Linked DNA regions of Homo sapiens: all the other regions are linked to region 1. Evidence: promoter capture Hi-C in human tissues and cell types (Jung and others, 2019). All regions are on one chromosome and are shown on one strand. Each heading gives the region's core, a stretch centred on a gene start or on the middle of the fragment in contact. The rest is flanking DNA. Distances are from core to core; before and after follow the strand shown. Region 1 holds the start of ZNF462 (zinc finger protein 462). Region 2 overlaps LINC01505 (long intergenic non-protein coding RNA 1505). Region 3 overlaps LINC01505 (long intergenic non-protein coding RNA 1505). Region 4 has its middle 68 kb from the start of LINC01505. Region 5 has its middle 110 kb from the start of LINC01505.

Region 1 (5,198 bases), core at 1,047-3,546:
CCTCCCAAAGCCGCACAAAGCCGGGATCATTTCAATCCGGAACAGCCTCAGCGTCCTCCTCCTCTCTCCTTTCTTCTTTCTCTTCTCGGTGACTCCCGTTCCCCTTTCGCCTCTGTCCTTTCTGCGCCTTGTTCTCGTCTCCTTACTTCTCTTCCCTCTCCTCGCCTTTCCTCTCCCTCCCCCTCCTTTCTTCTCCACCGCACGCGTAGAGTGTCATTTATTTATTTATTTATCACCCCCGCCATCAACACCCTTTTAGGGATCCCGAGCTTTTCAATGTGAGTGGGAGGAGAAAAGGGCAGGAAGTGTTGACTGGAAGTGGGTGAAATCGTGCCTCGGGGTGAGAGATTCTGCTCAGGAATATAGGGTCGGGAAAATCTTGGAAAATGAGGATTTAGATCTGTTTATGAAGCCCCGCTATCGGATGGGAACCAACTCCGCGCGCGTCTCCTCCTCTTCCTTTATTGTATGGATTTATAGGTATATATCTTCTCGGACTGTTGCTTGGGGGGAGGGAGGAGAAAGGGCGAGTATTTAAAGAGGACAGACTTGCCCAGGATCCTTAACACCGCGCCTTCACCGGATGCGCGCTCCTCAATGCAAAGGAATCCAGCAACATCCCCAATTCAGACGCGGACAAAAGAAACTTTAATTAAGGTCTCTTTCTGCCCCGCGCGCTGCGCGTTTCTCTCTCCTGAGGCTGTTGATGTCCAACTCCAAGATCCAAGAAATAGAAATGGTACAATCAGCCCATGCCCTTGAACTTCAATTGCTCCTGACTTGCTGCATTGATTTTTTTGATACTGTAGAACCCCCATCCCCAACCCCCACCGCTCCCAGTCCAATTAAAACCGTAGGAGACTTTCGACCTGGTGGTGGAGGGGGGGAACCACTCCTTTGCAAAAGAGATAGTTCAGAATGATACGGGAGAGATTACACTAAATAAAAATTCAAGGTGTGAAAGCTTCATCTTGGCTCGCGTGTCTTCAACACCATGACACCTTATCATTAAGAGCGCTGATTGTTACTTTCCGAGCCTTTAGATGATCAGCCAGAAAGTGCAAACAACGCGGGGCTGGAGGGTGTAAAGTTATTTAAGCAGGCGTTCTTTTTTTCTTTTGGTGCGCAGTCAAAACATTTCACAAGTTAGGAAAAGAAAGTGGTGGTTCCGAAGCTCGGAATGATGGGCTCTTTTCCTCCTCCACCCCCCCACCTTCCATATCAGGAAAGAAATAAAACGCACAATGAGCCTTTATTTCAGGAGAGAAGACTTCAAAATACGTGCCAGTAATGGACAATTTGAGCTTTTCACTGGAAATACTCACACCGCAAGCTGGAAAGGGATTAAAAAGCCCCACGTGGTTGATCTGGGTTTATACTTGCAACCTCCAGTTCCCCACGTATGTTCTTTGCAAAGGTTGGCCTCTAGATGGATGCAAGTAAGGGACCCTCTGGGGCTCGGGCTCGGCGCCTCGGGCAGGGCTGACGTTGGGAGCGCTATGAGCTGCCGGGCAGGGTCCTCACCGGGGGCTTCCTCTGCGGGCCAGGGCTGCCGGGCGCCACCGGGACGCGAGCGCGCACGCCTCGGCCCGGCGGCCGCGCTCCTCGCACCGCCTTCTCCGCAGGTCTTTATTCATCATCTCATCTCCCTCTTCCCCTTCTCCTTCTCCTTTGCCTCCTTCTCCTTTGCCTCCTTCTCCTCCTCTTCCTCCCCCTCCTCCACCACCACCTCCTCCTCCTCTGCCGCCGCCACCTCCTCCTCTTGCATCTCACTGGCCTGGCTCTGAGTGACAAAGACAATGTCCCAGCCTTAACTTTGCAACCACCTTGCCTCCTTCTGGGGTTCAGCAGGGGGGAGGGGGAACAGCAGCAGCAGCCTCAGCATCTCCTCCAGCTTCTCCTTCTGCTCTTCTCGAGCTCTTGGATAATTCTTCCTCTTTTTTCCCCTAGCCTTTTTCCTCATTTCTTTCTTTCTTTCTTTTTTTCCTTCCTCTCTGCTGCACGTTGTTGTTGTTATTAGAAAGGCTTCGCGCACCCCCTGGTGCTCCGGCGTTTTGTGTGGCAGGAGAAGATTGTCTTCCTTCTCTCTTTCTGTCTTGCTTTCTCTCTCCCCCTGGTTGCTCATTATTCAGAGAGAGACACAGAGGGAGGGAGAGAGAGAGAGCGCGCGAGGGAGAGGGAGGAGAGGAGAGAGAAGAGGAGAGAGAGGGGAGAGAGAGAGTGAGAGGGAGAGGGAGGGAGGGAGAGAGAGAGAGAGGGAGAGAGACGGATATCTCAGGTCATCTGCAGCTGCAGCGAGTCTGAGGAGCCGAGGAAGGCAGGGAAGATGGCGATCCTCCATTGCTGAGACCCGGCAGAAGCACATGAGACTCCCAAACAACTTCCACAACAATAACCCGAGCAGGAAGAGGAGAAAGAGAAAGAGGATAAGGAGGCGGTGGGGCTGGAGAACCCGAAGCACCTCCCGGCGCCGGGACGCTTCTTCTGTAAGTTACTGCAATTAACAACCACCTCGGGGTGGTCCGAGTGCTCCGGGGAAGAGAGCGCGGGGTGGTGGAGGCACAAACGCGCTCATTCATTCGGCCAAGGAGGGTTGGAGGAGCGGGGAGGAGAGGAAGTCCCCTGCATGGACTGGCTGTTGGAAGAGGAGAAGAAGCGAGAGAGAAGAGGAGGAGGGGGAGGAGGGAGAGCAGGAGGGGGAGGAGGAAGAGGAGGAGGAGAAGCGAGGGAGGAAGAGGAGGAGGAGGAAGAGGAGGAGAAGGTGGTAGTGGTGGCAGTGGAGGTGGCTGTGCTTTTCCTGCTGGCTGCTGCTCCTGCTGGGGGGAGTGAGCGCGGTGGCTTAATTAATTTCGTGTAGTTCTATGAAGAGAAGAGAAAATGAAAGATGAGTGAGAAGAGAGCTGGAGGCTTAGGACGGATGCTCCGAGTGTGGGGACAGGAGTAGGGACAGAGGGGGGCGGAGGGCGGGAGGCCGGAGACCTGAGCCGAGAGCCAGAGGGAGCGAGCGAGGGTCAGAGGAGGGAGAGCTCCGTGCGAGCGGCCCCGACCTGAGCGGGTTGACCTCTTTCTTTCTCTGTCCCTCTCCTTCCTTTCCCCCTTCTGTCTGCCTGTCCCCCGCCCGATGGCAAAGCCGTGCGGATTGGCAGCCCCCCTCTTCCTCAGGTATTTGGCTCTCTCTCTCTCTCTCTCTCTCTCTCTCTCTCTCTCTCTCTCTCTCTCTCTCTCTCTCTCTCTCTCTCTCCCTCTCCCCGAAGTTGGGATGCGGGGTCGGGATGTGTCGGGGGGTGGCTGCTGCAGCTGCTGGTGCCGGTGCTGCTGGTGAACAGAGAGGCGAGGAGCGGGGGGCACCGGCCGGGTGGGGGGCGCAGGTTCAGGAGCGGCTGAGGAGCTGTCTCCAGGCTGGAGGTTCAGAAGCGTCTGGTGGAGGAGGACAACGGTTTCTGGAGAGGAGAAGCCATTACACACGCTTGGCTCTCCTCTGAGGAAGGGAGAAAGGAAGGCAGGGGCCTGGGGGGGCGTCTCACTCCTGGTGCAGTTCCCAGGGGTCTGCCCTCCTTCCAGGCACGAGGGGAAGCCGCAGCCGCCCCCCATTGGAGCAGCCCCTCTTTCCCTTTCTTTATCTCCCTGTCCTCCATTTGCAAGCTGTCTGCTTTGGTTCCAGTCCAGACTCCAAAACACAAAGCTCCTTCTCACGTTCATTCTCCAGGCTGTTCACCATTCCTGAAGGAACCCTCGTTTTCTTTTCATTGTGGCTTCTAACCTACAGAGAGGGAGGGAGGGAGGCTGCCTGGAGTTCCTTTTATATTCCTCCCCAACCAAGAAAAAAAAAAGTTTCATTTTTAAGCACGCGTCTGGGATGGGGAAAGACCAACCAGTTGGGGCTTTCTCCCAGGGCTCCCGGGGGCTGTGTCTGAGTGTCTGTGTTGGCTGTTTGGTTTGCTTTGGTTTTGTTTCTGGAGGTTGCTTGCAGGTTTTTGGAGGAAGTGACTAGTTTGGTTAAGAGCTGGGAACTGAGTCAGGTAAGCCGTGTCATGTTGTAACTCCACCAGAAAATGGAGGAGAGCGGGTTTCCAGGAGACAAAGCTGAGATGAGAAGTGTTTATAAAATTATGGATGTCTCCATTTTGAAGCTCTGTTGGTGATGGCTGGAGGAGGAGGAGGCTTGCTTGCCTACTCCTTCTCTCTTTCCAGAGGGAAACCTTGTGGTGGTTCCTCACTGTCTATTCATTATGCAAGGAAATGAGGGCTTTTAAGGGTTCCTCAGATTTTTCTCCACCAAAGAGTGCTTTCACAAGTTATTGAGGCGTTTGTTTCCATTTTAAAGTAAACTTTTGGAATTTTTTTTCTCCTTTTGAGTGGACCTGAAGGGTTTTGACCTCCTTCAGGAAAGGCAAGGCAAAAACCTTAAAACAGTTCCACTGAGGTCTTCACACAACTTTAAGCTGCTCCAGGTCTCCTGAAAGTCACCAGGAAATGTGATTTCCTCCTTGTGAAGATGGTGATGGCCCTAAGCTGAGATTTTTTTGAGTTCTAGGGTTTGGTTATCATCATGTTTTGATGCATTGCAAGACTTTATTGTCTGATTTGAGTTGATTTCTGCAAATATAAAAAATAATAAGAATAATCCTGCAAGATCTCAGAGGAACTCTAAGACTGGCTAACACCAGTTTCTCCAGGTTCTCCATTTCTCTTCAGGTCGTTCCATTTGTATGTTAGGCCTTCTTTCAGTTTCTTTGTTTCCCCTTTCCCTTTCCGTCGGCTAATTTTTTCTGTGTTCTGAAGTACTCTTAAGTCTTCAGAAATATCAGTATGTCTTCTTAACAATGTCGCTATGGAAACAAATTTTAAAAACATGATGTCAGTTGAGAAAACCTTATGTCCAGGTATCTTCACCTTTTTAATTGGGAGGAATTTATTAATCATGTAGGAAGACATTTTGTGAGGATAATTTGAAAAAAGGACCCAGTGCTACCCTAGTCCACACACATTGATGGGAGCTCTTCACATATTAGTTTTAGAGAATGTACATAATTGACCCAAGCAAAGAACTAAATCCCGAAATGCTTCAGGAATTTTTAAAAGCCAACCATGAAGATGTTGCTTTTCCATTAGGTGAGGTAGCCATCTTGAGGATGAGGGAAGATGTTGGAAGAATTTTAGATGAACTGTTGAAGATAGGTGAGGAGGGCTCCACGGTG
Region 2 (5,198 bases), core at 776-3,275, 220 kb before region 1:
TAATTATATTTATTACAAGTTTCTTACGTTTCTGTGAAATGATAAAAAAAATTATTTTAAATGGGTATAAATAAAAGGCAATAAATTAAGTATGATAGACATCTGAAAAATATTCAAATATTTGGGAATTCAACACACTTCCTAAACAAGCCATGAGTCAAAGATGTCACAAGGGAAATGAGAAAGTATATTGAACTGAATGATATGAAAAACACAACTTACCAACATTTGCAGAATAGAGATAAAGCATTGCTTAGAGGGAAATGTATAGCTTTAAATGAATACATTATAAAATATAAAAAGTTGATAATTAAAGCTCTAGAATTTCATTCTAAGAAACTCAAAGAAAGAAAATTAAAGCGAGTGAAAGAATGAAATAATAAAGAAAAATGGAAATCCACGAAATAGGAGATGGTTAAATAATAGAGAAAATCACTAACTGCAAAAATATATTATTTGAAATAAATAAAGTTGATAAACCCCTAGGTAGATTAATCCAGAAAAAAATACTAATATCCAATATCAAGAAAATATGATCTTCAATAAAAGAGATTACCAATATCAGAACAAAGGAAAGACATCACCGTAGATTCTACAAATAATGAAATATTATGAACATCATGCCAATAAATTTAATAACTTAAAATGCCAAAAGCACGAACCATCAAAGAAAACATCAATAAGTTGTATTTATCAAAATTAAACTTGCTGCTCATAAAAAGTCATTGTTAAGAAAATTAACATGCAAACCGGAAGGAAATATTTACAATACAGATTCCGACAAAGGACTTGTATCCAGAGTATAAAAAGAATTCATACAAGTCAATAACAACAACAAAAACGAAGTGTGTCTCCAGATGCCAAAATAGGATTAGAAGTGCTAGAGATGTACTGGTTGAAGTATCTGTGAAGATAAACTGGTGGGGGAGTAGTGGCACACAAACAAGGAAAGACATCTAACCCCAGGGCAATTCTGATACCTGTCCAAGATAAGAAAGAAAGAAAAATTGTCTAGGAAGAGCCTCAAATTGCAACACACTCTCAGAATATTTTAATCAGGCTGATGAATAATCTTTAAGCAAAAGTTGCCCTTTAGAGGAATCCTTGTTAGGTGGGCATAGGTTAGACTCACATTCCCCAGTGCTTAGGCACTGGTTGAAAGCAGCAATGGGGAACTGTCAATCAATTATATTTCCCAAAATAAGCTTTCTCAAAGGAGATCTGAGCAGCACACTCCTATGGATGTCAAATCACACAGTTTAAAGAAATAGGCAAAAGAATTAAACAGACATTTCACAAAGGATGATATATGAATGGCCAAAAAGAACATAAAAAATTGCTCTACATCATTAGTCGTGAGGAAATTACAAGTCAAAACCACAATAAGATACCACTGCACACACATTAGAATGGCTGTAAATAAGAATGTTGACAACACCAAATACTAGTGAGGATATAGAACAGCAATAACCCTCATATATTACCTGTGGGAGTATAAAGTGGTAAAACCAGTTTGGAAAATTGTTTGTCAGTTTTCTATAAAGCCAAATGTATACTGACTCTATATCTAGCAATTTCGCTTCTAGGTATTTACCCAAGAGAAATAAAAACAAATGTCCATACAAATGTTTGTTTAAGAATGTTCATAGTAACTTTATTCGTAATAGTCTAAAATGGAAACAACTCAAACATCAATTAATGGAATATTACTCAGCAATAAAAAAGGAATGAACTATTTATATACACAATAACATGGATAGAGCTCAAAAACATTTTGCTAAGCAAAAGAAGTCAGACACACAAGAGTACAAAGTGTGTGATTCACTTAAATGAAATGATAACATTTTTTGTAATGATGAGAAATAGATCAGTGCCTCAGATAAGAGGGTACAGTAGTTCACTGAGGAGGGGCATGAAGAAACTTTCTTGAGTAGTGGAAATGTTTTGTGTCTTGATAAGAGTTTCTGTATTCTTTGGAAGTCATGAAATGCACATGAAGAGAGCTGTGAATGTATACACACACACACACACACACACACGTATATATTATCCACCAATTAAAAAAAAATTAGGTACAACCCTAACCATAAACATCTGGTAGAGTCAAAAGTTTGCATATTACACTAAAATATTCAAAGAAAGTATAAGTTCTTTGTCTCATGATCTGTTCTTTCTCACGAATTCCCCTCCCACAGCTCTCTAGGTAGCTGGGAAACCTAGAACTGGAAATTTACAATATCTCAATCTTTTTTCCACTTTAATCTCTTTTCACATAAAATGTTGGATATATTTTAAGTTCACCTTCCTCTTAGAGATGGCTTAAAGTTTTCCGTATTTCTGGCTGCTCTTTTACTTTAGGTGAGTGTTTCATCTTATAGTGTCCTGAACCCTCCCTGTTCTTTATCCTGAGATGATTTCTGGATCTGATGACAAGGCTTCTTTGCATACTCTCAAAGCAGAGAGAAAAGGCGTAAGTTCCAGCAGGTGTCCTTGGATCCTCTCTTATCTTTACTGGGAAGCGTCCGATCTATTCTGATACTTGGACTGATCACTGTTGAGGTGTTATTGGCCCCATCTAGAGCAAGGTGCTGCTGTTGAAAACTGGAATCCATGGTTCTGGTCATATGTCCCTGTTTGGAAAGCCCCTAAACACAGTGCTGTCTCTCAGCTCCTCAGTGTCCCCTCAGCGAGGCTCACAGAAACTTCTGGATTGATTACCTGACATAGCTACAGACAGCCCTGTCTTTCACCTATTTATTTCCTCCCCAGTCATCACTGCTGTGTATAACCCTACACCATATTGAAAGTAGCCTTGTGAGGAGACTTCTCCTGAAAGCATATGACCTTCCTCTACTATCCCCAAGGTTGCTGGTGACTGTCTCCTCTCTACATCCTCCCACCATATTTTTAAATTCTTTCATGTCTATCTGGATATTTCTGACTCATCTCCACCCACATCTTCTATTTTCTAACGGCTGTATGTCCCCTATGTCATATCCTGAGTTCTTTCTACTCCCTTTGTTCTAATTGTCTAGGACTGACACTAGTTATGAAAGGCACAAGCCAACCTGGAACAAGAGCTCACCGTGAAAAAAAAAAATGCTGCACATTGCCCTAGTATCATCAAAATATTGTCCCATTACACACAAAATATTTAGTTCGGAGTCTATCTTTTTAAGTTGGACAGTCAAACTAGTTTTACTGTGTTTTATTTCTCTTCTATTTTTCTGGCCAGTTCTCCTACAGTCTTGCTAGCTTTTTTTTTTTTTTTTTTTTTGAGATGGGGTCTGGCTCTGTCACCCAGGCTGGAGTGCAGTGGCACGATCTCGGCTCGCTACAAGCTCCGCCTCCCGGGTTCACGCCATTCTCCTGCCTCAGCCTCCCCAGTAGCTGGGACTACAGCGCACACCACCAAGCCAGGCTAATTTTTGTTGTATTTTTTAGTAGAGACAGGGTTTCACCATGTTAACCAGGATGCTCTCGATCTCCTGACCTCGTGATCTGCCCGCCTCGGCCTCCCAAAGTGCTGGGATTACAGGCGTGAGCCACCGCGCCCCACCCAGGCTTGCTAGCTCTTTAACCAATAGCAGACAGGGTGGCAAAAAGAGCCATAATGTAAATCCCAGCAGGGCAGCACCTTTTAGACAATGTGATGCCCATACTAGTCTGATTAGGCTGGCAAAGTTGTGACTCAAAGTCTTTTAAAAAATGGGGGAGGGAGAAGAGGAGTACTAGGCATGATTACACAAACTTAAAGTAGGAAATTAAATTCACCAGCATCAAGTAAAAAAAATCTCAAAATGCTTAAAGATTGAAAATAGAGACATTTCTATTATAACAGTTACCTGAGAATACTCTCCTTATGGAGAGAGGGGCTTATTGGACAGAACCGACTAATCTGTGTTCTCCTCACCCCATCAACATCATATAACACCATCCCAAGGTACCATCATACTGTCCTGATATCCCCAAGGAAAATTAATCAAAAAATTATAATAATCAAAATTAATATAAAACATCGAAAGTACAAAATTTCAACTACTTTCCCTGTGAAATTTTGACCAAGGCTCTATTTGTTGTGTAACAACTTAAAGATCACATATTTTTCATCATGATGTAATATAAATACCAAGAAAGGCCATATCCCCACCTTCCTTGTTTTAGCAGACAGTCATTGCCATTTCATTGTGGTACATTTCACAGCCCTAATGCAATCACAACCAGGAGCCATTTATGAATTAAATTACTCTAGCATTGCCTAAATTTCTGTGAGAAAGCAGATTTACCCCCCTTGAATGTTATTAGTGCAATCCTGGAATTATTTGTGTTTTCAACTAGTGAGACCGAATATAACCTTTCTGCTAAAATTCTGGCAAAAAGACACAGCAATATGTCTAACTTACACATTTGTGTTCATGTTCAATGCAAATGCCTTGGCAAGGAAACTTAGGTCAGAGGCTCCAATCAATCACTGGGATTTGAGACCTTGACTGGACTCTGCAATAGGAACTCATTTGTGGCCTGAACCCTCTTTATTAGACATGTCCACATAATACCAAGCAATGCCCCATTTGATCAGTTGAAGCAACTGACCAGGTCAGGTTGTTGTTTCTTGTCTTGCTTCTGTTTGTTTAAATAAAAGAACTATAGCACGGCAGATAAAGTTTAAGCCCCTTTTGTTACCCCTCACAAGAGCATTTATTCCTCTTCCTCTTCCTCTCTCCCAAAGCTACCACACTCAGGAATTTACTGTGTATCCTATTTCATATGTTTACAATTTTATTACATCTATATGTGTCCCCAATACATTTTTAAATGCTGTCATATAGTCTGTATGATTCTGCAACTTTTCATCCATTCAACATAATGTTTATGAGATACACCCATGTTGACACATGTAGACTTAGTTCATTTTAACAGCTACATTTGAATTCCATCACAAGCATATAGCACAATTTATATATCCATTCTCCTATTAATGGACATTTCAGTTGTTTCTAATTCTCCTCTATTACAGACAATGCTGCAATGAATGTCCTTGTTCAGATCTCCTTGGTGTACATGGGCAGGAACTTCAGTAGGGAATCGCTAAAGGCAGGATTTCTGGGTCCTAGAGCATATGGATTTTCTACTTTCTTAGTGGATATTGACAAATTAATTTAAATTCAAGTAAAATAGGATCTTTACTGTAGCTTATA
Region 3 (5,198 bases), core at 983-3,482, 200 kb before region 1:
GACCTTGTTTCCTTTTAGCAAAAAATTATATTTGGAAAGCAAGATATGGGAGCCCGGTGTGCACATTGCTACTGGAATGGCATTGTTTTTAGGTCCTTTCAGCAGTAAGAAATATATGCATATGTATATACATACATTAACACACATGCATATACATACATACATATATATACACATCTATGTTTATTTCTACATCTATGTGTATATATATATACATATTTTAAAACAAAGCTATGAGTTTACTCCTGTATCTCCAGTTCCAATCTAACACTTCAGGTTTCTCTCTAGACTTCTCCATTCCATATTTATAAATCTCTTCTCCAATTATGCTCAATATTGACTCTGATATTTTAACAAACTTAAGAGCAACGATCTTTTCTTGCCTTTGCATTCACCAGAGAGCTGCCAATGTGTTCAAAATTCAGGGACTCGATAAATCAGTGCTGTTCTTTAGTGCCTGGGCCAGGGGCAACCTTGACTTTAGCAACGAAACTACAGACTGAAGAATTTTCAAGAAATCCGGAGGCTAGTTCTGTGCCTCACTGTCTGCGTGTGACAAGCGATCTCTTTAACTGACATTACGGGCTTCTTAAAATGAGAAATGAAAAAAATATTCTCAAAGTCTCTCTGAGACTCTCCAGAGACAGATGCTGTATAAATTTAAAGTGTAATCATTGTTGCTGTGTGGAAAAAATGTTCTCCATCCATCTTGTTCTACAATAGATGGAGAATGTTCTCCAGGATCACTGCTCTTCTCAGGCTTCTAAACAGGTAAAACAGCTAAATATTGCATTAGATGCAATGGCATCAGTCAAAATGAATTATAAGCAACACTTAACTCTCGTATTTTTAAAATTTATTTTACTTTAAAAAATGCAGCACAACATAGGGAATACACATGAACCTATCTTGCTACTTAAAGTAGGGAATGCTTTCAACTCAGGTCAGATGGGGCGTGCTCTCTAGGGTGAAGCAATAGACAATAAGCTAGAAGCGTCCAGGTGGCCTCAACCAAAGATAACTCTGTCTTTTCTTCAGTTTGCAGCATCACAGAAAATGATGCTCTCTCCTGCCAAGTCCCATTTTTTGGGAGGAGGAAATGGATTAGGTCCTGGAGGTTGTCATAAATGCATCAAGTGACTTTCTCAGCATCATCTGAAACAGTAAGTGAAGAACAAAAACTCAAAGAATGCTACCCTCTCCATTTACCTAACAGCTGCTTTCTGGCCTCCAGATGTAGTTCTCTTAGAGCATGATTATTTATTTCTGGCTATATTTCAGTCCATTAAACTTAGAGACTTATACAGACATAATCTCAGTTTCAAGCCCTGCCTAGGATCAGACAGAATAGCCAACATAGAGGGACCTTTAGGAAACTTCTTGTCTAATTGCATCTCTTTATAGATGAGAACATTTTATAGATAAGACTTGTCCAAAACAAGTTCCACTCTACCATGCTTTACTTCCCTCTCCCTTGTGATTTGTCCTCCTGATTCAAAAGCTGTATCTTGGTTAGAGGTCAGCTCTGGGTTTAGCTACTTTTCAAGATATCACAGTTCCTCAAAATAATTTTTGATTAAGAGAAAATGATAAACTAAGATTTTGCTCTCAGTCTCAAACTGCATGCTTGGCATAATGGAAAATGCATTAAAATGACTCTTATTCTAACACTGCCACCAACCAGTTGAGTGATCCTAACCTTTCTGAACCTTAGTTTCCACATCTTTGAAATGATAGTATTGGATTAAAATATCCACTCATTCCCCAAAAACGTACTGAACAAAATAGAAATCCTTCCCCCCACCTACTTTATTTGGCACTGGACCTTGGGCAAATTACTAAACCTATCTGTAACTCAGTTTTCTCATCTGTATAATGAGGAATAATAGAAGTACCTACTTCATTGCTTTGTTGTGAGGATTGAATGAGATGCCCACACAAAGCACTTACAACAGCAATTGGCATATATGGCAAGTGCTCAATAATTGCTTGCTGCTATTATTATTATAGTTATCATTATTATTATTACTACTATTCTTTCCATGCTCCTATTCTTGGCTCGTGCTGTTTCCTCTGCCTGAGTTGATCTTCCTCTCATCTGCACGTCCAAATCCTACCTGCCCTTCAGGGCCCACTTCAAATACTCTCCCAAGAAACCCTCCCTGATTCTCACCAGCTTCTTCCCTGGAACACCCACCCATGGTACACTGACATCACCATCTCATTTAAATATCATATATACTCATCTATTATCTGTCCCTCAAGGCTTCTTGATGGCAGGGTTTCCATCTGACTCGTCTTTGAATTCAAGTGGCTGGTGCAGAACCCAGCAACTTGTAGGGAATTAGTAAATATTGGTTGAATGAATGAGGTATAACATTGCTAAAATCGTATGTCTACACTGGTTGTATAAATGGTTATATCAATCCAACCAAGAGACATTTTTTTCTAAATGTTGTTAATTAAAAGCTGAGGATATAGAACCCCCCCTCTCAAAAAAGAAATCTACATTACTGATCCTAAATGCTAGTCCTTAGACCAGTTCAATCCAAATCATCTTTGGAGTTCTTTAAATATGTGAAAACCTGGTACCCATCTCCCAAACGTTCTCATTCAGTAGGTTTTTGTGGGAATGGAGGTGACTCAAAAATCTTTATTTTTAAAAGGCTTCACAAGGGATTGTGATGTATAGACAAAATGAGGATGCTCAAGTGTATATTATGTCTAACAACTTTCTTAAGGTTTCCTCCCCCAAATGACTAATTTTAATACGTAACCATAAAGTCCGAGAATTTTTTGCTCTTTTTATGTTGTCATAATCAATGGGTTTTTTTTTTTCCAGATTGAAGATCCTAAAAAAATGATAGCAGCTTTTAAGAAGGACTATAGTGGAACAAGCAATATTCTAAGTGACAAGAGACACAGATTCTAGAATAAACTTAGCCAAATATGTATGAACTCGAACAATCTCCTTTGCCTCTCCAGGTTTTAATTTCCCCATCTTTACAATGGAAGCAATGACAACAGCAGCATGCAGCTAGTTTGGAGATTTTGAAGTCAGATTGGCTATTTAGCATTAACCCACCATGGTGCTGGTTGATCTTGCTAGATACAAATCTGTCATAAGTGAAAGCATCTTGACGGTGTCTTGGAAGCTGACTGGAAAAATACTGCTTTTAGCAGTACCTTTAAAGCAACAGGAGCTTTTCTGCATTGCATAGAGACAGAATGAGCTTTGTGTAAACTGTGCTGTAGCCACGTTATTCTGAAAGCCCATTGGGAAGATGCCAATAGTAATTCAGCTCAAATAATCTCTATTAGCCATAACCCTTTTGGTTGCAAGAGACAAAAACATGACTGAAATTATTTTCGGCTAGAAGGATCGAGGAGACTTGCAGCATAGCTTTGAGAACAGCTGAAATTAAAGACATGAATGCTGCAAGTGTCTCTGCCACTCTTTGTGTATTAACTTTATGTGCTCAGCCTGGCTTCCTCCACACTGCAAGGGATATGGCTGTTGCTTATATTTTCATCTCCATCTTTGCCACCAGAGAGGGACTGCCTTTTGTCTTGTTCCAATTTGGGAATTCCTGGGGAAGGACTACTCTGGCTTGGGTCACATGTCCACACCCTGAATCAAACATCTGAGGTCATGGAGAAGTACACTGATTGGAAGATCCTACTAATATTAAAAAGTTTGAGGAAGAGAAGCAATTGCCTCTATAAAGGGATGCTACTCCTAGAAAAATGATGGGTGCTGAGAAGGCCAAATGATCAGTGCCTACTGAACTGTCCCATAGGTATTTAGGTAGATATGGGTAATAAAGTTCTTGTGAACTAGCCCACTACATGGAATGCAATGTAAGGAAACACAGCTTGGTTCTGACACCAACTAGCTGTGTGACCTTGGACCTCATCATTCATCTCTCTGAATTTTGATTACTTATATAAACAACTGTCTTCCCCCTCACCCCGCCTTGAGTAGGGCTCTTTGAGATTGGACAGAAGGTATTACTTATATTTACATCTGCAGAACTGAGTACAAAGTATAGCCCTTAATTAGTACCCCATGATGTGGGTGTTTTTTAAGTTAATATCCAAGCAAAGTTTTTGATGTTGCTTACTGAGATACTTGTAACAACTAGATTTTCTTAATGAAGAAAAGGGTGAATGGAAAATAAACAAACAGGATAAAGCCAAGTGCATACCATAAAGTACTGTTAGAAAACAATGATGATACATTTGCCTTTAAGCTTCCTAACAGTCAGAGCAAAGATGGGAGATGAAAAGACACTCTATAATTAGGGTTGCCAGATATAGAAAAATAATAACAGAAAGCCAAGTTAAATTTGAATTTCTGATTAAAATGAATAATTTTAGTATTCTATATTTATGCTGTATTAAGGATACATTTATACTAAAAAAATTATTTAGTGTCTATCAAAAATTTAGCTTCATCTGGATGTCCTGTATTTTATCTGGCAACACAATCTATAATCAGGTTTTCCATACCCAAAAGATAAGGACCAAACCAGTTGCTCAGGTGATGTTGAGTTTTTCCTAATACCAGATTTCTCCTAATAAAAGAGTAATGGGATGCCTAATAATACTTGGTTAACTGAGCTTTCCCAGACTCTTGGTTTTCTCCTCTGTACAATGAAGGAGTTTGAATCAACAGCCTATAAGCCTCCTCCTTGTACCAATGTCCTGTGATTGTTTGTGATTTTTCATACCCTGGGATTATGCTTTTTGACTAGATGGCTCTGCTGCAGCCAAAAACTACCAACTGGAGTACTTTCATTTAGCTGAATTATTTACTTCACTCAAGGTGGTGATGTAGCCATGCTCTGATTCCCCAAACCTTTTGTGCCAGTTCTGGCTGGTGGCTCTTGTGCCCAACCCAAAAGGACTAGAGAGAGTCGCTTTCCCTCTTTCACTCATTATACATGTGCATTTTACTGCTAACCTCCTAGGCCCAGCAGGAGCAGTGGTGACTGTAGCTTTTCTGAAGGAAGTTAAATTGAGGGCTGGAGTGTAAGTACTGCCCAGGAAGCAAAAGGAGACTCAGGGAAACAAAGCAACTAATCCTAGGTGGTTTGGCCAGTAAGTCATTGAGTGCTGACTTATATCCAAATTCTATAGCCTTTCCACTATGTAACACTGTCTCACAAAGAAGCTGAAGCCCAGAGCCTTGGAGA
Region 4 (5,198 bases), core at 945-3,444, 180 kb before region 1:
AGACATTTCATTCAACAATTATTTATTGAACACTGAGCTAGATGATGTTAAGCACTGAACTAGGTGATAAGTGAGGTCAAAACTAAAACAATTCCTTGTCCTCATGGAGCTACAGTCTCATGAAGCTAGATATCAATCAAATAATTATACCAATAAAAATAAGATTGCAATAATGGTGATTGGTATGAATGAAGGTTATAAAGTCTATTGAGATCTGGATTAATCTGAGTGTCTCATGGAAGTTTCCTGAAGAAGGAATATTTGGGTCTGATCTGATGGATGTTAACCAGGTGAGAACCTTCCCTGTAGAGGCAAATTGCCTGGTAGTGACAGACTCAGTGATCAAGGGAGCTCAAAACAGGCATATACTAGAATCTCCCAGGCACAATACAACTTCTATCTCATCCTTCTCTAGAGCCAGCCTTCCTACAGTTACATGCATGCCTAATTGCAGGGCTGGGTAGGAAGCCCCTCCCACTTCTACTCTCTGCCATGGCTGGCACATCTCACAGGTTCTCATGCTGAAATCTCCTCTTCTACCATCTACTACAAGTCTGCCCACCATACAAAGGGTGCTGCTTGGCTGTTTTAGGCTCATGGCTCCTTAGAATGAACTGTGAAGGTTATGAGAAGAAGAACATTTAATAAGCTTAGTGAGCCTCTTCTCATTGCTTTCTTCTTTCCTTCCAATTAACATTGCGGTCTCACTTCTCCCTTCACGTGGGACAGTCATTTATTCTTTTCTCTGGTGGTTACTCTTTCCAGCCAACCTCTGACAATCTACCTTTCTGATGCCTCTTGCCAAAGGCATCTTACAATCTCAGGGGAGGGATGAAGGTTCACATACATAACATAATACAAGATGGCAGGTATTGAGTACCATCTTCATGGAACAAGTAACAATAAGCACTTAGACAATAATAAATCAAGGGAGACTTCACAAAGGGATGATATTGGGCTATATCTTTAAAAATGTGTGCACACAGGAAAAGGAAGCCTTTCTAAGAGATAAAAATGTACAGGCAAAGGTCAAGGGCAGGGAAAGGCAAGAACTGCAACTAGAATTGTTTGGTTAGAGCCCTGAGGGAAGCAAGGCAAGCCAGACAAATTGAAGCCAGATGGCAAGGGGCCTTGAGTGTCACATAAAGCTATTTGAGCTGTTTTCATTAGGTAACAGCCACTGGAAATATGGGGAGGCCTGAGCTAATCTGAGCAGCATCTCACAAAGATGGATCTTAGAGTCATGTATGGAAGAATTTCATTGGCTAAGAGACCAAAGTCAAGGAAACCAGAACAAAAGCTTTTGAATGGCCTTGCTTGGGCTTTCTAAGGCTTCACACTTTCTAAGTGTGCTGACTCTTTCTAAGTGCCTGACTCTTTATTGTACACCTGTTTTTGTTTTAATGTATCTATTAAACACTTACTAGACATTCACCAGGCATGTCCAATGCCAGACAACAAAGTTGACCTCCATCCTAACACTATGTTTTATTCATCCTGCATCCATAAACTCTAGCAGAACTCAAGTCAAGTAGTAGGCACTTAACAGATACTTGTTGAAGGACTGGTCAACTTCGGTTGCTAAACCATTGTAGCAACAAAGATAACAACAATAACAACAGCATGAGTAATGTCAGAGGTGTTTGAATCAGAGTGCCTCCATCTTGAATAGGGGCTGGGTATAATAAGGCTGAGACCTACTGGGCTGCATTCCCAGACAATTAGGCATTCTAAATCACAGGATGAGATAGGAGGTCGGCACAAGATATAGGTCATAAAGACCTTGCTGATAAAACAGGTTGCAATAAAGAAGCCAGCCAAAACCCAGTAAAACCAAGATGGTGATGAGAGTGACTTATGTTCATCCCCACTGCTACATTTCCACCAGCACCATGACAGTTTACAAATGCCATGGCAAAGTCTGGAAGTTACCCTAGATGGTCTAAAAAGGGGAGGAACCCTCAGCTCTGGGAACTGTACACGCCCTTCCTGGGAAACTCATAAATAATCAACTTCTTGTTTAGCAAGTAATCAAGAAATAACCATAAAAATAGGCAACCAGCAGCCCAGGCTGCTACTCTGCCTATGGAGTAGCCATTCTCTATTCCTTTACCATCTTAATAAACTTGCTTTCGCTTTGTACTGTGGACTCACCCTGAATTCTTTCTTGCGCGAGATGCAAGAACCCTCTCTTGGGGTCTGGATGGGGACCGCTTTCAGGTAACAGTAATAAGAGTGACATCAGGGCATCACTCTGTCCCAGGCAATGGTATAAGTGCTTCACACAAATCAATTAATTTAATCCTCACAATTATCTTATGAGATAAGCATATTACTGTTCCTGTTTTACAGACAGGCAAACTGAGACCCCTAAGAGAAAGGTCTTGCCCAAGACATCACAGATATTAAGTAACAGAGCTGGATCGCAAACCACAGCAACAGATCAGAGCCTATGTTCTCACTCAGTATCTCACACCTCCTTTCATGGGGCTGTCTACTGATTTCTGGACTCTTCACCTTCCACATTCTGCTTTATGTCTAGAATAGCAAGAAGCAGAGATACTCTCCAAGTAAAAGTTCATCCAGACAGCCCACTTAAGAATTTCTGGAAGGGAGGATTTCCCTCCCTCCCACCTCTATGGTCATTATGGTCACTGTCAGCCAAGAGAGGCCATTCAGAGGTACATCCTGAGACAACATGAAGGATCTTTGTGGGAAAAAAGCAGAAGAGATGATGCAGGTGGCCTCCTGGGAAAGTGGAGGCAACCTGAAATTGGATAATGGGGTCCACCCTACACTGGGCATGAGGTAAGGAATTTTACCTTCTCACAATTCTCACCTGTGATGGAAGTATTATTATTCTCAGATAAATTGCCTAATGTCGCACCACTAACAAGGGGCAGGGCAAGTCTGTCTGAACTCTTTCCATCTCACCTCTCTGCCTCTGCCTCTACAATAATGGTGAAATTGGGGTGAGGACAAGAAGGAGAGAAGTGAGGGGTCATTTGTACCCCTCACCAACAAATGAAAAAGCAGACATTTGGAGAAGAATCATTTATATTCTATGAGCATCATCATTAGGGTTTTGTGGGGAAGTGGGGGTTGTTCTGTGTTTTTGCTTTTGGCATGAAAACTAAATCTACCACATATTTTATCAAAATGACATAGCTATTCCTTGTTATAAGAAAACTCACCACACCAAACCATTGCCATTACAAAGTGCATTAAAGTAGCAAATTATTTTTATTCTGCCTAAGTATATAAATTACTAAATTTTTGAGGCTTCTCTAGTAAGTGTCATGCCAATGCTATTATCTTAACCTGGTTCAATGAGCCTTATCTTGAATATCACCTAGTGTTCATAATGGAAATTTTAAAACAAAAATCTGAGGTCAAACAATATGTATTGAAAGCAGACACCTGGCCTGAATGACACAACCTCAGGTCGTTCAGTGATTCTCCTGATTATCTGTATTTTTGAATAGAAGAAAATGGTTTTTCAGATTTGTATTTAAATATCAAAATAACAGTAGTAGAGGCAAATCTCCAAGGCCTGATATTGTCTTAGATCCACAGTTTTTAGTATTTTTCCTTCAACTCTTCAGTGGGATAAAATCATTACAAAAGTCCCCTTAAGATCTCATTAAGAGGAGACCCCATGAAGCTGACCCCACAGGGAGATATAGGTAGGGTACAGCCATCCTATCTCATAAAGAAAGAACAAGCCCTTTTGATGAATCTCAAACTGTCTTCATCTTAGTCCAAATGTAGGAGTTACATGTGAACCAACCAATCGACATCTCACTCCTTATAACTAACAGTGCCTGCAGAGGCTGTTCTTGGGCTCTTTCTGAGGTGTTGACTGAAGTCCTAAGATGCAGAGTCTCTGGTTTCTTCCCAGAGTCCCTGGGCTTGGTGGAGGTCCTGGAATCCAAGCCACAGTGAACTCATGATCCAAGGGTTTACTCACTGGTTCATGCAACAGGGAGAGAGGCCCAGTTCACCTGGGGCTGGTTTGGAGGGTCTAGAAAATATAAAAAGTGAAGCTCTCCTGGCCCACAGAGAAAAGGTAAGAAAGTGTGTCTGGGGAACAGGAAGGCACTCATTAGGATACGGAGCATCTCCTAGGGGCAGAGTGATTTTGATTCAGATTCAGACTGTAACAGCTCCTGGCATCATGCAAATGAAAGCACCAAGGAGTCTTTCTTCCATGAAAACGGGGCAAGTTGCCCTTTTTTTTTCAAGTAGCTAAGCAACAAAAAATATAAATTACATCACAGAATGGTTGCCTAGAAAGAAGAGAAACTATTTGGGCTTCAAAAATGAACTTTCTTTTTGAGAAATATTTAATTGTGTCTAAAAATTTATAGAAAACAAAAGGTAATGAAATGGCCCTAAATCACCTTAGGGTTAAAAATAAGTAAAAATAGTTCTGGCTGAGTGTAACAGTGAGTGTGAGTAAGAGTGTGCCTGTGCGCGCGCGCGCGCGCGTGCGTGTGTGTGTGTGTGTGTGTGTGTGGACATGTATAAATCTGTCTTCTGCCTAGACTGAAAATCATTTGAAGACAGAGACTATGATATTTGGGCTGAATTGAAATCAAATGAATTTCTAATGACAAATTTTGATCTATTCCTCTCCCAGTCTTTCTTTTCTTTAAAATGGCACTATTTTCCCCCTGTCTACATATTAGAAACTCCCATTAACTATAAACTCCTGGAAAATAGAGACCACTTACTTATCTCTTTTGGTTACCTAATTCCATAACATTCACCTAGTTATCTGTCTCTCTCTCACACACACATGCGCGCACACACACACACACACACACACACAACACATTCAAATACTTCATAAGGAAGTCTAGGAAGAGCTAGCTAATCGATACATATTTACTGAAACACTTTTGAGTATGTACAATGTGCATGGAAGTTATGAGAATTTGTAAGAGCTGCACCAAGAAATGAAATGGTTGAATTCTGATTGTGGATTCCTACACCATAGAAAATACTCATAAAAAAATTATAGCACAACTGTTTCATTGGTATAAAAAGAGAAACATAATCTGTGCTGGCTGTTTTCCTACTTCTAAGTGTGTCTATATGTTTTCTTTATTTCAAGCAAACAAACACACATTGAACACCTATATAAAACACTACTGTAAGAAGAAAGACAGTAAAGGGTCAGATAGGTGTCTGCC
Region 5 (5,198 bases), core at 1,357-3,856, 130 kb before region 1:
ATCCCAGTTTATGATGGACAGCTCACTTCCACAGACATTGTCAACCCCATTTGCCGACTCAATTCTCTGTTTATGTTATCTCCATCTTCAGAGGAGAAGACCCAGTCTCAGAGAGGTTAAATGATTGTCCCAAAGTTTCACGGTTGCTAAGAGGCAGAACTGGGGCTTCAACCCAACTCTTCTAACTCTGAATCCCTTGCATTTTTTTCTCACTGCACCACAGAGTAATCATAGGGCATGTATATCAATTGGTGTGTGCACCAAGTCGAAAATCTCATTTAATTTCTAATTGTTCCAAACACACACTCACCACTGGGCTAGTTCTATTGGGGGGAAAAAAATCAGTGAGTCTGGTGGATTTTTTGTGGTTGTTGTATTAGTCAGGGTTCTCTCGAGGGACAGAACTAATGGAACATATATATATATATTCCATCTCTCTCTCTCTCTCTCTCTCTATATATATATATATATAGATGTATATATCTATACACAGAGCGAGAGAGAGAGAGACAGAGGAGTTTGTTAAGTATTAACTCACAAAATCACAGGGTCCCACAATAGGCCAGCTGCAGGCTGAGGAGCAAGGAGAGCTAGCACGAATTCCAAAACTGAAGAACTTAGAGTCCGATGTTCGAGGGCAGGAAGCATCCAGCATGGGAGAAAGATGTAGGCTGGGAAGCTATGCTAGTCTCTCATTTCACATTTTTCTGCCTGCTTATATTCTAGCTGTGCTGGCAGCTGATTAGATGGTGCCCACCCAGATTAAGGATGGGTCTGCCTTACCCAGCCCACTAATTCAAATGTTAACCTCCCTTGGTAAAACCCTCACAGACACACCCAGGGTCAATACTTTGTATCCTTCAATCTGATCAAGCTGACACCCAGTATTAACCATCATAGTAGTTGTTTTTCTCATAATATAGTCAAAATGCCCAGTTGAGCCAGTAAAGTTTTTCCACCTTGAGTGGATTACTTGGCCATGTGTTCATTCACTATAAAACAAATATTTACTGAATGCCTACTATGTTTTACACATAATGCTAAAATTTTCACGCAGTTTTCTCCCTGTGACTTAGGTTAAGTAGTTCATGCAAATTGAAAATGTTAATGTTATACACTTCTTTTTGTACTTATTTTCTAGTGTGATAGTCATTTTTAGGCTAGTAAACCTTCCTCATTTCTCCTCAGGAGAAAAAAAAACAATGTATTTGCATTAAGGAGGTTCCCCCTCATTTTTCAGTTATGTTCATCTCTATGACCCACTTATTTAGGTTCTTTGGAAAAGGAGAATTCACCCTGTGTGGGTCACCATATTAATTACTATTACAAGGAGCTGATTTATGGCCACAGAGCCCTTGCAGGTGTTTGAGAATGGTGCTCCACAATGGGAAATGGAAACAGGGTAATCAATAACCACCCTGAGACTCCTGCTTTAAGGCTGTCCTTGAAGGTGTGCTGTGGATCTTTTTCCAGCACGTCTGAAGAGCAATCCTTTTGCCAGCAAGGAGCCCTACGGGAGGAGAAGTAAATATTGTCTTTAGACATGGCACAAGGACCAAAGACACTGCCAAGACATCAATACTGAGATATCACAGAGGGCTTGTTGGTGGAGGAGGGAGGCTGGTCACAGGCGGGAAGGTGAGATTTCTTCTTTTGACTGCTGAGATCACTGGACTTGCAGTCAGAAGATCTGGGCTCCAGAGCTGGCTCTATCCTTTATCAGAAAAGTAACCTTGGACACATTACTTAATCTGTCCAAGCAACAGTTTTCGCCTCTGTAAAATAAGCATACTGATAGTACCTATACAATGTAGAGATTAGTTGAGATAGTCAAAGTTCTTTCTGTTCCAGGAAGTGCTTTCATATAGTCTTAATGATGCTTTTGCTCTCATTCTGTCCTTTTCATGTGAACTATGACTTTGGTGAGGGCAGGGCCATGCCATATATAATACTGTCTTTAGGCCTTAGCACAGGGACTGGCACACTGCAGGTGATGAAAGGTCTTTGTGAAGGATTGCATGCATCTTCCCTTCCCTTGTCTTCCTTCTACTTGCTTTCCACTTTGCCCCCTCTTAATTATCCCCAAATACATGTTGAATTTATGAGGGAGCAGCAGGGAGGGCCACTTTGGAGAGAATCATTACTCCACTCCCTTTCACTGCATGGCCTTTTCCCTAGGCTAGTCAGAGAGCTATTTGAGCTAGTTAAGTATAAGACCACTGAGTAAGAATGTTGACTTCCAACCAGGCTGCTATATCCCAGTTTTTTAGCTTAAAAGTGGCTATTGCGGTGCCTTAAATAAGTATAAATCCTGACCAAAAGAGAGCAAAAAGTTTAGCCTGGCTGAATTTTGAATCCAACCATAAACTAGAAAAAGAAGGAGCGGGAAGACTCACCACGAGGCTGTATCAATAGCCCCAGTGTGAGAAGGCTCAAAGAGTCTGGCCTGAAGCTTGAGCTACCACAGCAGTGAGATGATTTCTAATTTTAGAAATATTAAATAACTGATAATGATACGACCTTGTTAAAGAACCATGTTAGGAAAAAAAGGGACACTGTTAAAAATAGCGTACACTTTCCCTGCTGAAGGTTCCAGGTAAAACGTGGGTTCACAACCATAATGTAGGTTCCAGATGACGAGACAACCCACATTGCTGACAAATGTGGCAAGGCCAAGACTCCTGTGTGTCCTGGAAGATACGCATTTTCAGCAACCAGCAGGGCGGCTAAGTATAAGCACTGGGAAATCAAAGAAATAGGACTGAGTCCTTGTTCTCAAGGGGTGTGAAGTCTAGTCACCAGCCTAATGGTGACTCCAAGATATCCTAATTTTAATATGTGAAGCTGTGCTACAGTGCCCAAGACCTAACTGGGGAAAAGCAGCCTCATGCAATGCCTAGAAATGTCTGAAACATTGCTGCTGGCATCCTATAAAACAGGAATCTGAAATGCAAAACCGAAATAAAACCAGCAGGCCTCACTCTGGGAGGACAGAGAAATGGAAGATGCAGTAACCCTGGAAGGTTAACAGAACCCCGGATAGCTTCCCCATCCTGCCCAGTGCCACAGATAGGCACCTCTAAAGCTTGGCTACCTCAAGGATCATTAAATGCTTTTAGCAAAGCTGTCTCTGAGGAGCAACCAGCTTTGAAAGCCAAACTGAAAAATGTCCATCTGATCTTGTAATTGGAGAGAAAGTAGGATCTGTGCCATGATAACACATTAGAGTCATTTGGAGATGAGGGAAAGGAAGGGGTGGTCTCATAATTAGCAGGAGCCTGAGAGTGCAGAGAGGGGATGTTTCTGGAGTCAACACTGGAATTTACTTGGCATCAGATGCCATCAGTCCCTCCCTATGTGACTCTAAACACATGAAGAATTTGCTGAGTACACCTTGGCTAAATCTTATCTGAGTTTCTTCATGTCAACAATACTTCCAATCATACGGTTTAAAACTGGTTCTCCACAGGGGGCAGTTTTGTCCCCCAGGGGACATTTGACAATGTCTGGGGACATTTTTGATAGTCCTCAGTTGGAAGAGATTTTCTACTGGCATCCAGTGAGTAGAGGCCAGGGAAGCTATTAAACTATTTATTGTAAGACAGCCCTTCACAAAAAAGAATTATTCAGCCAAAATGCCAACAGTGCCGAGGTTGAGAAGTCATAGTTAAGAATAATGAATATTTTCTGAACTGCCATCATTTTCAGGATTCTTTTACTTTTATACCTTGAAAACAAAGGAATTGGCTTACCTATCATCACTACAGTAATAGAAAATTCCCAACAATTAAGATGCTCCAATGGTGTTTACTCATTCTTTTTTTTTTTTTTTTTTTTTTTTTTTTGCGGGGCAGCGGGGGGAGTCTTATAAACAGAGACCTTAGACAAGAGGTGAAGGGACTTCTGCAATACTGTCAGAGTCAAATACCTTGAGATTTCACTTTGTTCCCACATCTGAGGCCATCAGCCCTCGCCAGACCTCACAGCCTGAAATAATGTTTTGGAAAAGCCAAATATAAAGATACATGATTTTTTAATCTGCTGGGAGTGGGTGGGACCACACTACTGTTGAGAAAGATCTTTCTAAATAGTAGATTGGATTATGTGGCTCTCTTCTTGAAGCTTTCAATGACTGCCCACAGGACAATATATTGCACTGTTCTTCTCCATCTGGCTCCTACCATATCTCCAACCATCTCATCTTCTGGATCTTCCCAGCTCACATCATTTACCCCAGTTATACTGGATATCTTGTCTTCCCCAAGATGCAACTGTCCCATCACACTTTTCTTGTTTTTAAACATGGGAGTGTTCCCCTGCCCACAAGGTCCTCCACCCTATTTTCCAACTAACTCCTAGCTGTCTGCTAAGAATGATCTCAAATGTCCACCACTTCTAAAACTATTTTCTCACCTGGCCCCTGCTCCTTCCCAATACCCTGGCCTAAGTCTGGTGCCCTTCCCAGAAAAACCTGTATCTGCTTCCAGTATAATACCTACTGTCCTGAATTTCAACTAATTATGCATCATCTCTAGGCACTTTGAAGAGAAATGGTTTCCTGTTCATCTCTGTATGTACATCAACCCTCCGGGTATGGTGCAGGGCTTGAGTCCCTAACAAGCTTTCAACTACTATTTGGGAAAGAATAGAAGAAAAGTACAGGGTAGGGAGGAGGACAGGGTGAGGAGGGAAACAGAAGACAAGAAAGGAATGATGATGGAAGGAAGAAAGTGGGAAGTGAGAAAAGGAAAGAAAAGGCAGGAGGGAAGCAAGTAGACTGGGAAGGAGGAAAGAGAAAGGAGGAAAGGTGAGATGGGAAGAGAGGGAAAGACAAAGAAGGAAGAAGGAAGGGAGAAGGAAAGAGATCAAAAAGAGAGAAGGAAGAACTCTGCTAATATCTCTTGCTTAGAAAAGATTTATTCTGCTCTCTCTGACTTGAATCGAATCCCTGCATTAACTATCTTCAAGAACCACATAACTCTCTGGCATAGCACTTTCCCCATTTGTAATTATAGATGTATCTGTGTGATTATTTACTACAATGCTGCAGCCTCCATGAGGTTGGCTTCTACATTTTCCTTCAGTGTTATAGCTTCAGTACATATTGTGTCTGTGAAAATTATTTGCTAAATAAATGCAAAAGTGGGCAGACTGGTGGAGCAGAACCAGCAGCTAATTTTATTAGTAAAAAGTCAGCC

The links. Contacts are between HindIII fragments. The study calls those that stand out against the background at their distance.
Region 2: a contact is called between a fragment that was not itself captured here and the fragment with the promoter of ZNF462 in region 1, in 1 of the 25 tissues and cell types used here (H1 embryonic stem cells).
Region 3: a fragment that was not itself captured here is called in contact with the fragment with the promoter of ZNF462 in region 1 in 1 of the 25 tissues and cell types used here (heart right ventricle).
Region 4: a contact is called between a fragment that was not itself captured here and the fragment with the promoter of ZNF462 in region 1, in 1 of the 25 tissues and cell types used here (H1 embryonic stem cells).
Region 5: a contact is called between a fragment that was not itself captured here and the fragment with the promoter of ZNF462 in region 1, in 1 of the 25 tissues and cell types used here (heart right ventricle).

Annotation. Positions count from the first base shown.
Region 1 is chr9:106,860,870-106,866,067 of GRCh38, forward strand. ZNF462 (zinc finger protein 462) reads left to right here and starts at 2,297. Exons shown (of 13, transcript NM_021224.6): 1 at 2,297-2,486. The HindIII fragment of the contact is 13,314 bases long and covers 1-5,198 here.
Region 2 is chr9:106,641,895-106,647,092 of GRCh38, forward strand. The region is part of intron 3 of LINC01505 (long intergenic non-protein coding RNA 1505); the gene reads left to right. Among named protein-coding and RNA genes, the nearest start is that of LINC01505, 28 kb to the left of the region's middle. The HindIII fragment of the contact is 3,951 bases long and covers 51-4,001 here.
Region 3 is chr9:106,663,715-106,668,912 of GRCh38, forward strand. LINC01505 (long intergenic non-protein coding RNA 1505) reads left to right here. Exons shown (of 7, transcript NR_104145.1): 4 at 1,039-1,163; 5 at 2,843-4,008. Among named protein-coding and RNA genes, the nearest start is that of LINC01505, 50 kb to the left of the region's middle. The HindIII fragment of the contact is 6,710 bases long and covers 1-5,198 here.
Region 4 is chr9:106,681,013-106,686,210 of GRCh38, forward strand. No RefSeq gene overlaps it. Among named protein-coding and RNA genes, the nearest start is that of LINC01505, 68 kb to the left of the region's middle. The HindIII fragment of the contact is 6,203 bases long and covers 1-5,198 here.
Region 5 is chr9:106,726,606-106,731,803 of GRCh38, forward strand. No RefSeq gene overlaps it. Among named protein-coding and RNA genes, the nearest start is that of LINC01505, 110 kb to the left of the region's middle. The HindIII fragment of the contact is 3,529 bases long and covers 843-4,371 here.